Regions from separate parts of the Homo sapiens genome. Here region 2 is linked to region 1. The links are contacts of gene promoters, found by promoter capture Hi-C in blood cells and fetal thymus (Javierre and others, 2016). All regions are on one chromosome and are shown on one strand. The core of a region is centred on a gene start or on the middle of the fragment in contact, and the rest is flanking DNA. Distances in the headings are between cores, read along the strand shown. Region 1 holds the start of SRGN (serglycin). Region 2 holds the start of TACR2 (tachykinin receptor 2).

The links. The method cuts DNA at HindIII sites, captures the fragments that hold promoters and counts their contacts. A CHiCAGO score of 5 or more calls a contact.
Region 2: a contact is called between the fragment with the promoter of TACR2 here and the fragment with the promoter of SRGN in region 1, in 3 of 17 cell types (erythroblasts, fetal thymus and M0 macrophages). The highest score is 12.2, in erythroblasts.

What each region holds. Positions count from the first base shown.
Region 1 is chr10:69,085,829-69,091,527 of GRCh38, reverse strand. It overlaps SRGN (serglycin), which reads right to left and starts at 3,425. Exons shown (of 3, transcript NM_002727.4): 1 at 3,292-3,425. The coding sequence starts at 3,370. RefSeq lists a silencer at 1,217-1,396 and enhancers at 2,095-3,294, 4,942-5,111. The HindIII fragment of the contact is 21,371 bases long and covers 98-5,699 here.
Region 2 is chr10:69,415,286-69,420,668 of GRCh38, reverse strand. It overlaps TACR2 (tachykinin receptor 2), which reads left to right and starts at 3,751. Exons shown (of 5, transcript NM_001057.3): 1 at 3,751-4,737. The coding sequence starts at 4,346. RefSeq lists enhancers at 2,202-2,496, 3,247-3,981. The HindIII fragment of the contact is 12,893 bases long and covers 1-5,383 here.

The sequences.
Region 1 (5,699 bases), core at 2,176-4,675:
GGGGAAAAGAAGACCATTTGATTTATTCAAAATGGTAGCATTATCTAAGCCGGAGTTACTTCCTCCTGGTCTATCAATTCCACAAGATGGATAAGCTTCCCCCACTCTTGCATGGTTTGACAAGCTATAAAAAGCTCCTAAGTTTACTTTCAATTTCTCCCTCAACTCAGTGGGAAACGTTATAGCAAGGGCTACGGTCAAAGGATTTTTTGTTTGTTTGTTTAAATAAAGAAAACCTCTGATCCATGAGCTGCAGTAGAAAGTTAATTCTGGCCTTGAAATCAGACGACCAGTTCAGCCGTTAATTAGTTGTAATGGGTCTTGGGCAAGACTCACAAATTTTTTGCAAGAGGTTAATGTATAGAGCAAATGAGATGAGAAATGTCAGATCCAGTTTTCTCCTCTATAATTGGTGCTAATTCCTCATCACAGGGAATGTGATGATGATTACCAGAGAATGGATGTGAAATCACTTTACAAAGAGCAGCACAAGGAGTGGATCAGTATCATTCCTGTGAGCTAGGAGACAGTATACAGTGGACACATGGCGGGCCTGGCCTCCTTGGCTGCACCTGTTCATGGATATTCCATTTTTTTTCTTTATGGGTGTCATTGGAAAAGAGAGGCAATAAAAGTGGAAGATTCACAGGCCTCATCAAATCCCCTGGAGCCCTACATTAAATAGATTAGTCATCTGTGCTCTCCAGAGTTACACATCCCCAAATTTCCATTTCTTTGTGCTTGGTAAACACAATCTTACCCCACATCTTTACTTGGGTTTGACTTATAATAAAAATATACCACCACCAAATTCATATGTTCCAGTTCTAACCCACAGAATCTCACAATGTGAAATTGTTCAGAAATAGGGTCATTGCAGATATAGGTAGTTAAGATGAGGCCATTAGGGTGGCCCTGATCCAATGCCTGGTGACCCTCTAAGAAGATGGTATTAAGACACGGATGCATGGAGGAAAGGCCATGTGCAGACAAGGGAGAAGGCGCCATCTATAAGCCAAGGAGAGAGGCCTCAGAATGCGATCGACCCTGCCAGCACCTTGATCTTGGACTCCCATCTCCAGAACTGTGAGGAAATACATTTCTGTTATTTAAGCCACTCAGTCCGTGGTACTTTGTTATGGCAACCCGAGCAAACCACTATAGTGACCTGAAATGGTTTTGAATATGCTCAGTAAAAGCAAGCCAAAAGCCTAGTTGATTTCATCTGCCAAACCAACGGGCTAGATAAACACTTTTTATAAGACAGGAAGAATGTTGTCGAATCATATCTGGCATTGCGTGGAGGTGTGAGGAAATGGTGTCACGACTCTTCACATCACAGCCTTGTGCCGCAGTCACTCACATGTGCAGCCAGTGGGGGACATCTATTTCCCTGCATGCTCAGATGTGGGCACAAGCCCTTGAGCCCGATACTGAGAGCCTTTTTTCGGAAACACCCTAGTTTGTCAGTTTCTCCCTTGTCTCTTTCTATGGTTTCCTTTTCTAACAAAGAGCTAAACCTACGAGGTCATGACATAAATGCTAGTATTCTATACAATTTCATGATGAATTATTTTCTTTCCTTCTCTTTCTTTCTTTCCTTTCTTTCTCTCTCTCTCTCTTTCTTTCTTTCTGACAGAGTCTTGCACTGTCACCTAGGCTGTAGTACAGTGGTGCAATCTCAGCTCACTGCAACCTCCACCTCCCAGGTTCAAGCAATTCTCCTGCCTCAGCCTCCTGAGTAGCTGGGATGACAGGTGTGTGCCACCATGCCCGGCTAATTTTTTTGTATTTTTGGTAGAGACGGGATTTCACTATGTTGGCCAGGCTGGTCTCAAACTCCTGACCTCATGATCTGCCTACCTTGGCCTCTCAAAGTGCTGGGATTACAGGCGTGAGCCACCATGCCCGGCCTTCTTCATTTCTTTCTAATGAATATTATACAAGGAACGTTTTTGTTTTCATTCTAGTTTTCCTTAATGAATCTTAGTGGGAAATTCATGTTTCTGGGAAATTTTGACAACATAAAGACTTACATATCTCTGGTTGGGGTATGCCCAGCACCATCTGGCCATTCAAGACTGTACTAAAGTATGGGCCTCATTACTCTCGATCTTGTCAGACCACTTGGCTATTCGGGAATTATTTCATCAAGCTGAAGATATTCCCTAAAAGATCCCAGTGAAGCCTGTTCCCTACAATTGACAATGTTTTATATTTTAAAAATACATAAATTAATAACGTTCCAGAAACATTACTTGCTCTTTTTTCAGCATTAGCATAACTAGAAGAAAATGATTTTATAAATTTCCAACATAAAATGAATGTCTCTGCGATCATCTGTAAGATTTCATCTCCACCGGAAGTAAGATCATGACAACCAAAAGTCGCTTTGACGAAACAAATCTAGGACATGTGTGTCATTGTGACTCAACATTTCCCTTACCATTTGGCGGAACCTAGTGTTTTTCTACTATAGGTTCAGCCATCTCTCTATCAAGCCATGACCTCCGTCTTATTTAGACATGATTCCTTATTTGCCAAAGAATAACAAATTGTATTTTTCTTACAAGCCTATCATTTTCATTGTCTTAGTCATTACAGGTTTTAAGTTGTTTCAGTCTGACTAAACAACACTAAATGGTAGATAAACCTAGGAAGATATTTCCGAATATGATGCTTCTCTGAGCAAGAGCACAAATACCAAATTATTTGGCCTTCTCTTTAAAATCTGAGAGGTTTTACATGAACTATGTCTAACCATAATTGAGTTTTCAGTAAGAACCAAGTTTATCTTTAAAAAAAAAAAAAAGAAAAGAAAATACACACAGTCAGATTCACCCCAATTGGAATATAACGTCTCCCAGTGTTAAAATAACAATGACACCGTCACAGCGCACTAAAACTTGGGGCTGATGTAGACACTTAGGGGTAGGCAGACACCCCCCAACAGTCAAAGGTGCCATCTCCTCCATGCAACAGGCACAGGAGTCATTTTCTAGATTCCTTTTTTGAGCTTTTAAAATTTATAAACCTCACATTTTCATCCCAAAATAGCACATTTCAATCATTGTAAGAGTTTACAAGACTGCACACGCCACAGAGTTTAATTTTTCTTGGTACCAAACTTAACAGAACTCATATTAAAGGGTTCAGCGACCCCAAATCCTTCTTCTTTGCCTCCTTTCTCACAATATTATACATTCTATGCCTTAAAATGAATATAATGACTTGCATGGACCACAGGGCTTACAGAGAAGATGGCTGGGGAACAAGACTCCTGAGTCTTACCTTGAACTGAGGATTCCAGAACCAGGATGAGGGCAAGAGCCAGGACAAGCCGACTGCATTTGAGTAGCTTCTGCATCATGACCAACTTAGTCTAGCTCTCCCAGCTGCACGCCAACTTCTTGATTAGGAAATGTAGCAGGGTGCTCTCTGTCCCTTTTAGAAAATGTTCCAAAACCTCAAACCCTGCCCAGAACACACGTCACAATTTCCTGAACAAATAGAAAGACATCCACATCAAAACCCAGAAAGAAAGGGGGTGGGGGGAACACAGTAAAATAACTATTCATACCCATTATGAAACTGTACTGGACTCCCCCCAGGCCTGCTTTTTCAAAAGTTTTGTTGTTTGCCACTTGCCTGCAAGACATTTTTTTTTCCCACCGAAACAGTAGAATCAGCATTTGGGACAGTTTGTTTTTCCTTTCTTCAGGTAACAATCTAAACACTAGATTGCTAATATTAAGAATCTGCTGCATTTTTTATGAGATAAGGGATCTAGGTGCTGCCTTTTCGTCACCAAGCACTTTCAACATAAAACATTCTCTTCATTTTCTTTTTCACCGGGGAGTAACATACCTCACTGAGCCAAGCTCGTGAAGTGAAACTTCAAAGCTGAGCTCTAACCTTCAAGAATGAGTTGTCGGATTTCAGATGAACAGTTTCTTCTTCTTCTTTTTCTTCTTTTTTTTTTTTTTTTTTTTTTTTTTGAGATGGAGTCTCACTCTGTCACCCAGGCTGGAGAGCAGTGGCGCGATCTCAGCTCACTGCAACCTCCATCTCCAGGGTTCAAGCAATTCTCCTGCCTCAGCCTCCTGAGTAGCTGGGATTACAGGCGTACACCACTGCGCTGGACTAATTTTGTATTTTTAGTAGAGACGACGTGTCACCATGTTGGCCAGGCTGGCCTCAAACTCCCAACCTCAGGCCATCCGCCTGCCTCAGCCTCCCAAAGTGCTGGGATTACAGGCGTGAGCCACCGTGCCCAGCAAACAGTTTCTTCTTAAACTCAGTTTCTTGCATTGGATCATTGGCTCTCTCTCTATCTCAAGAACATAGGATTTTCAGTTACAAAGACTGTGGTAAAACAGAAAAACTATTTTGCATTCCCCTCTCCTTCACATTGAGCATTTCTTAAGATGGATTCCATTTCTATTTTTATCTGTTCTCCTAGTCAAAATTTTCAACTCGAGTTTTGGGTCCTCTGGCCTTGAATAAGCCAGAAATCAGGAACGAGGGAGAGGTTGTCCTCACAGTGAGCTGCTGGACCTCAGCAAACAACACAAACCTCTGCCTCATGTAAATAAAGGAACAGCATTTTCCCTGGGCATGGTGCAGATTTCTGGAGGACTAAGGCTCCATATTAAAGTTATACAATAAAGGCCAGGTGCTGTGGTCCACACCTGTAATCCCAGCACTTTGGGAGGCTGAGGTGGGTGGATCACAAGGTCAGGAGATCGAGACCATCCTGGCTAACACCGTGAAACCCCGTCTCCACTAAAAATACAAAAAATTAGCCGGGCGTGGTGGCGAGTGCCTGTAGTCCCAGCTACTCGGGAGGCTGGGGTAGGAGAATCGCTTGAACCCGGGAGGCAGAGGTTGCAGTGAGCCAAGATCGTGCCATTGCACTCCAGCCTGGGTGACAGAGAGAGACTCTATTTCAAAAAACTAAAAATAATAAAATAAAATAAAATAAAGTTATACAATAAATACAAGCCTATCATACATCCTTGCCCTTGTGGCATATACATTTTCCTTACTTCCTTTCAAGATTCAACCACTCTCCATTTCAACATGTCTATCCCTACCGCTCCCCCAGACGGCTTAATGCACGTGCCCCACTTTCCATTCTCATCCTCGCCCTTGCCTGGCCTTTGATAGGAGGGAGGAGTTTCCCTTCCCTTGTTTTAGGCTTCCTGCTGATTCCTTTACCATTTCCTGCTAAGGACAGAGTCTCACAGTCTAATAGCCGTGGTGCAAGAACACAAAGAGTGTACATTTTGGCCCTCCTCAGAAGCCCCTCACATCAGCCAGAAGTGTGTCCTCCAACTCAGGGGCGTCTCCAAGCACAGTAACCAACCCCAAAATGCACTGGCCCGGAAAGTTTTCCACTGAGAAATGTCGGTTTCTGTTTGAAATATCAGATGTCATCTTTGGTCCTTTTAAATCTAACTCCCAATTGAAAACCCTGGCACCAAAACAATAGTTCCTATCAATAGCTTCGATGAGTTTCCTGCAAATCCCCAGAGCTGATTAGGGCTGTGTTTTAAAATGGTAATTTTAGGGGCTTTTTCCATTTGGGAACTTCATTTTTTTTCTTTCTTTCTCTGGGTCATGGTGTTGTTGTTGTTTTTTACCTCTCTCTCTCTGTCGCCCAGGGTGTACCTCCACCTCCTGGGTTCAAGCAAACG
Region 2 (5,383 bases), core at 2,502-5,001, 330 kb before region 1:
GGTGGCTTACGCCTGTAATCCCACCACTTTGGGAGACTGAAGCAGGCAGATCACCTGAAGTCAGGAGTTCAAGACCAGCCTGGCCAACATGGTGAAACCTCGTCTCTACTGAAAATATAAAAATTAGCTGGGCATGGGGGTGGGCGCCTGTAATCCCAGCTACTCGGGAGGCTGAGGCAGGAGAATCGCTTGAACCTGGGAGGTGGAGGGTACAGTGAGCCAAGATTGTGCCACTGCACTCCAGCCTGGGCAACACAGTGAGACTCTGTCTCAAAAACAAACAAACAAAACAAAAACAACAACAACAACAACAAAAACCCTATTGAGGGAACCATACCGGTCACTGACTTTTTATTCCACCAAGTAAGGAATTTTAAAGAAAAAGCAAAACCAGGTCAACAACTACCATCCGCCATCCCCATTATTTCATGAAAGAACTCAAACAGCAGGAAGGGCATGGTCTCGGAATGAAGGACAGTCCATGGAACCAGATTCATCTAGCAGAATGAAAAGTGTTCTTCTTCTTGTCCTCATTTGGCCCCACCAGGAGCTCCCGCAAATACAGATGTGATCCTTCCTCCTGTCTCTGGGATGATCACTGGAGCAGCGGCTCAGGGTCAGACCCACCACCGGGCACAGGACTGGAGCCTTTCAGCAGAGGGGCTGACCCTTTGCCAACCCCACGTCCTCCTCTCACTTCGGCCACCTCCTGGCACCCCCAGCATTGCCCTGGTGACAGGGTGACCCTCAGCGCTAGTGTCCCGCGATGCTGTCTGTGACCTCTGAAGCTAGGGCCCAGAGCAGCCTCCCAAACAGAGATAGGCCACTCTCAAGAGCATCCCCCAGGCGCTGATAGCAACGCCTCATCCACAGTGCTTTCTGGAGCCGCCTTTCCTCTCCCACCCACTTCTCTCACACACCACAGCTCTCCCACCTTTTCTTCCTCAAACTCCCTGGAAGATCATTCCTCTCCCAACTCTGGTCTTTAAGCCTCTAGCCCAGAGGTCACAATTACACCAACCAGCAAGGCACAGTTGCCAGCGCACGCCCGTCTGAAGGAGTGGCTGCTGTCTAGCTGTGTGGACGTTGCCCTGCGCTTCCCAGGCCCCCTTCAAGCTGCCGGGCAGGCATATAGTACCAGCACCATGTTTAGCGTCCCCGACTGCAGGCCTCGCCTCAACTGCCTTGACAACAATCACATGATTTCTTGGGGTGGCCCACGTCCAGTGACCAATGTGGAAATATAAAGGCCTGGTTAACTTTGCCCCACACGGGGCAACTCTGAAGCTATCCCAGTTCCAATTACCCATGGGGTTACCAAGGCTATTGTAGGCCTGGACCACAGCACGATGCCGTGCTTCAGCCACACTTGCTTCCTGCCTTGTCTGCTGCCCCAAGTGTTGACCCCAGTGGTAGCTCCCTGAGAAACAGCTGGTGTGTTTCTTACACAGCAGGGTCTGCTTCCTGGATGCACGCAACTGGCACCATCAGCTCAGGTGTGCGATTACAGGTGTGAGCCACCGTGCCCGGCATTTTTTTTTCTCCTTTAAAAGGACTGGCCTTCCAGGCGCAGTGGCTCATGCCTGTAATCCCAGCACTTTGGGAGGCTGAGGCAGGTGGATCACCTGAGGTCAGGAGTTCAAGACCACCCTGACCAACATGGTGAAACCCTGTCTACTAAAAAAATACAAAAATTAGCCAGGTGTGGTGGCATACACCTGTAATCCCAGCTACTTAGGAGGCTGAGGCAGGAGAATCGCTTGAACCCAGGAGGCGGAGGTTGCAGTGAGCCAAGATCGTGCCATTGCACTCCAGCCTGGGCGACACTGTGAGACTCCATCTAAAATAATAAAATAAAATAAGGACTGGCCTTCGGGATCGCTGTCTAGCTATGGACTCAGAAGGCCAGTGCCAAGCAGCAAAGCTGATCAGGAACCCCTTCATCCTGGGTGGCCCGCATCTTCCCCTTTCACGAGGCTTCAAACCATAGCACATAGTTGGAAGGCTGCAAGAGCAGATAATTTAAGGGGAAAATAAAAACTCAGATGTACAAGCTCCAAAACATAATCCCCTTTACATAAACAGTGGAGGTGGCGGGATGTTGTGGGGAGGAAGGAACTTGAACTCTGCTGGGCTTCTGTGACTGGTGACAGGCGCTCAGGCATCCCAGCCCTGCACTGGGTTTGCACCTGAAGCTCAACAAATTCCCACTGCCTGGGAGCAGGAGGACAGCAAAAAGAGCAGGCTGTCTTGGGCTTCCATTCTTATTTCTACACATTCTGCTCTTTAGGACCCTGGCCAGATGGGCATGAGACAGAAGCAAACCCTAAAGTACTGCTACTGTTGCCGCCACCAACAGAGATCAAAGGCAGAGACCCTTCTGCTAGGGTCCAAAGTCCAAACAGGCCACTCCAGAGAGGAAACAGGCACACAGGCACACACCCACGGGAGGAGTAGGGGCCCAGGAAGCACTCCCTCCCCAAGGGCAAGGATGGGGTTCCCATTCGACCCAGCACATGCTCCTCACATCTGCACAGCAGGGAGACCAAACAATAGATACAATTTCAGTGTTGATTGTCGATGAACTTACCCAGAAGTTCATAATCAGAAAAATCCATAAAGAAGCTCTTTCAATTTCAGCATGTTTAAGTTTCATGACTTATGGTTTAGTGTTGTTTTTATATTGGATTCCATGGGTGGCATAATCTTTTCAGCACTAGAGACCTTTAAAGGTCTTTCTCAGCTCACCCCGGGAGACAAGGGCTGGGTGTCAGGAAAGTGACACACAGGGAGAAGCAGAAAATGGACTGGGAGTGTGGGGGCCGAGGCCCAGCCACGAGAAACCCAGGCGGTGCAAGGCAGAGCCCTGGGAGCACAGAGGCTGCTGTGCCGTGGGTTGCTGGTGAATGAGAAGCCTCCTCTGCTTTAATGAAGAACATGCCCCCCCGACTCCCGCTAATCCTGCCCTGCCTTCATGGTCCACACACCACAGGTGTGCACAGGTTCATGCGTGTGTGTGAGCTTAACACGTCAGCCGCACATACAGTTGCTCAGAAACATCTTCACTGCTTCACACACGTGCACACAGTCAATGACCAGGAGCAGGGATCTTGGGGCAAACCTAGAGCAGCTTCTCAGGAGTTAAAACTCCAGCTTTGCTGTGGTTCCCGGAAGAGCCCTGACTTTGTCCTAAGACAGTGGTTCTCAAAGTGAAGTGCTGGCTCCAGCAGCATCAGTATCACCTGGGAACTCGCTGGAAACGCTCCGGGTTCTGGCTTCTCCTCCTAGAGCGCCCAGAGCTGTGGGGTCCTCCCTTCGGGCCAGAAACTCCAATCATAGTTTTTATGTACCAACCCCTGTGCTAAGTAGACTTTGTGCACATTATCTCCATTTAAAATTCACAAATGTACTGTAAGATGCACACCATTTTTCTATATTTTTCAGATGGGGTAGACAGAGCTCAGAAAGGTTAAGAGACTTGCCTGGAGTCACCAAACCAGGCTCGAACTCCTTCTGTATTCAGAATCACTCTTCAGACGTAGCTCCTGTCCTGGGCTGAAAGTCAACATCCGCCGAGAGCTGGGCCCTCTGTACCAGCCCCATCTCCCCCAAGTCTCTCCCTGCCTCTGCAGCCAGTCCTAAATCTTTCAAGAGACAAGGCCAAGCAGGGGGTGGGACCAGGGGCGGGAGCCAAAGCCCCCCCTCGTGAGCAGGCAGCACCTCTGCCAAGGCCCCCACTGGCCCTGCCCCAGAGAACGGCAGGGAAGCTGCAGCGAGGGCTGGCAGCTGGCAGAGCCCTGAGCACCCAGCACCCAGCCCGGCTTGCAGCCCAAAGCCTGGAGAGAGGCTGCTGCGCCATTGACCTGTGGACTCCAGAGACTCCCGCTGTGCATTCCTCTGATCTGGAAGGTTTCCTGAATTACGTGACGAGAAACCTGGGTTCGAGTCCTAACTTGTCACCAACTTCCTGAGTGACCTGGGCTGGTCCCGTCCCCTCTTGGAATCTCTGTCTTCCATCTCTTCAGCGAAGGGGTTGATTTATAAGGGTGTTTTCTGCTCTGACACTGTGATTTGAATTCTGTGTTTCCACATGATATTCGAGAAGTCTGGCCGGAAGGATGGAATCTGAAATGACAATGGTTCTGGACTGGGCTTTGTGCTCAGCCCAGCTCATCTTTGCCTGAGACCTAGGAGTGGCCCCAGGCTCTCCTGATGTGCCACCACGCTTGGCATCTGCTCCTCTCCCTGCCCCCATATTCCCATGCTCTGAAGGGGAGTTCTCTTTCATAGCAAATCCGAGAGGAGCCGAGGAGCCAGGTCCTTTGTTCCAGACCCAGAAGCAGCCATGGGGACCTGTGACATTGTGACTGAAGCCAATATCTCATCTGGCCCTGAGAGCAACACCACGGGCATCACAGCCTTCTCCATGCCCAGCTGGCAACTGGCACTGTGGGCCACAGCCTACCTGGCCCTGGTGCTGGTGGCCGTGACGGGTAATGCCATCGTCATCTGGATCATCCTGGCCCATCGGAGGATGCGCACAGTCACCAACTACTTCATCGTCAATCTGGCGCTGGCTGACCTCTGCATGGCTGCCTTCAATGCCGCCTTCAACTTTGTCTATGCCAGCCACAACATCTGGTACTTTGGCCGTGCCTTCTGCTACTTCCAGAACCTCTTCCCCATCACAGCCATGTTTGTCAGCATCTACTCCATGACCGCCATTGCTGCCGACAGGCAAGAGGGTCCTTGGGGAAGCTGGGGGGAGCCTCCCCACTGAGCCGGGGCTCAGATAAGGGTGGTGACATGCCTGTGATTACACAGCAAGTTTGGGTAGAACCATGGGAATGGCTTCCCAAATCTGGTCATGGTCCAAAACTATGAATCTGGAAGGCAGGGGGACTGTGGAGCTGAAGAAGGTAGACTGAGGGTTAGACACAGAGAAGGACTTTGCACTAGATGCACTAGACAGGTTGTTCAAGTCTGTAGGGGAAGTGGGCAATGTTTTAGCGACCTTCTGAAGTGTTCTTTCCTGGAGTTGATCTTTGTTTTGTTGTCTTTATTTCACTCCAAAGATATGTCTTATACAGTTTTTTTTTTATTATTCCGGATAGATTACACGAGGGGAAAATGTTAAGTTTGCTTGCAGTTACAATCTAATAGGGCCAATTATTTTCCCAACGCTGCTCAGGGCTGAGCTTCAGGCTAATGTTGGATGCTTGATCTTGCCCTGAGATGGGCTTCCAGTGTGGCTTTCTTGTGGCCGTCCACGGGCATGTCCATGCCCAGAGGGAAATGGTGGGCCGAGGTGCCTGGGCCGGGGTTCCAAGGCATCAGTGTGCTGTGTGGCTGTGGGAGAGTCACCCAGCGGGCTCTCTGCAGG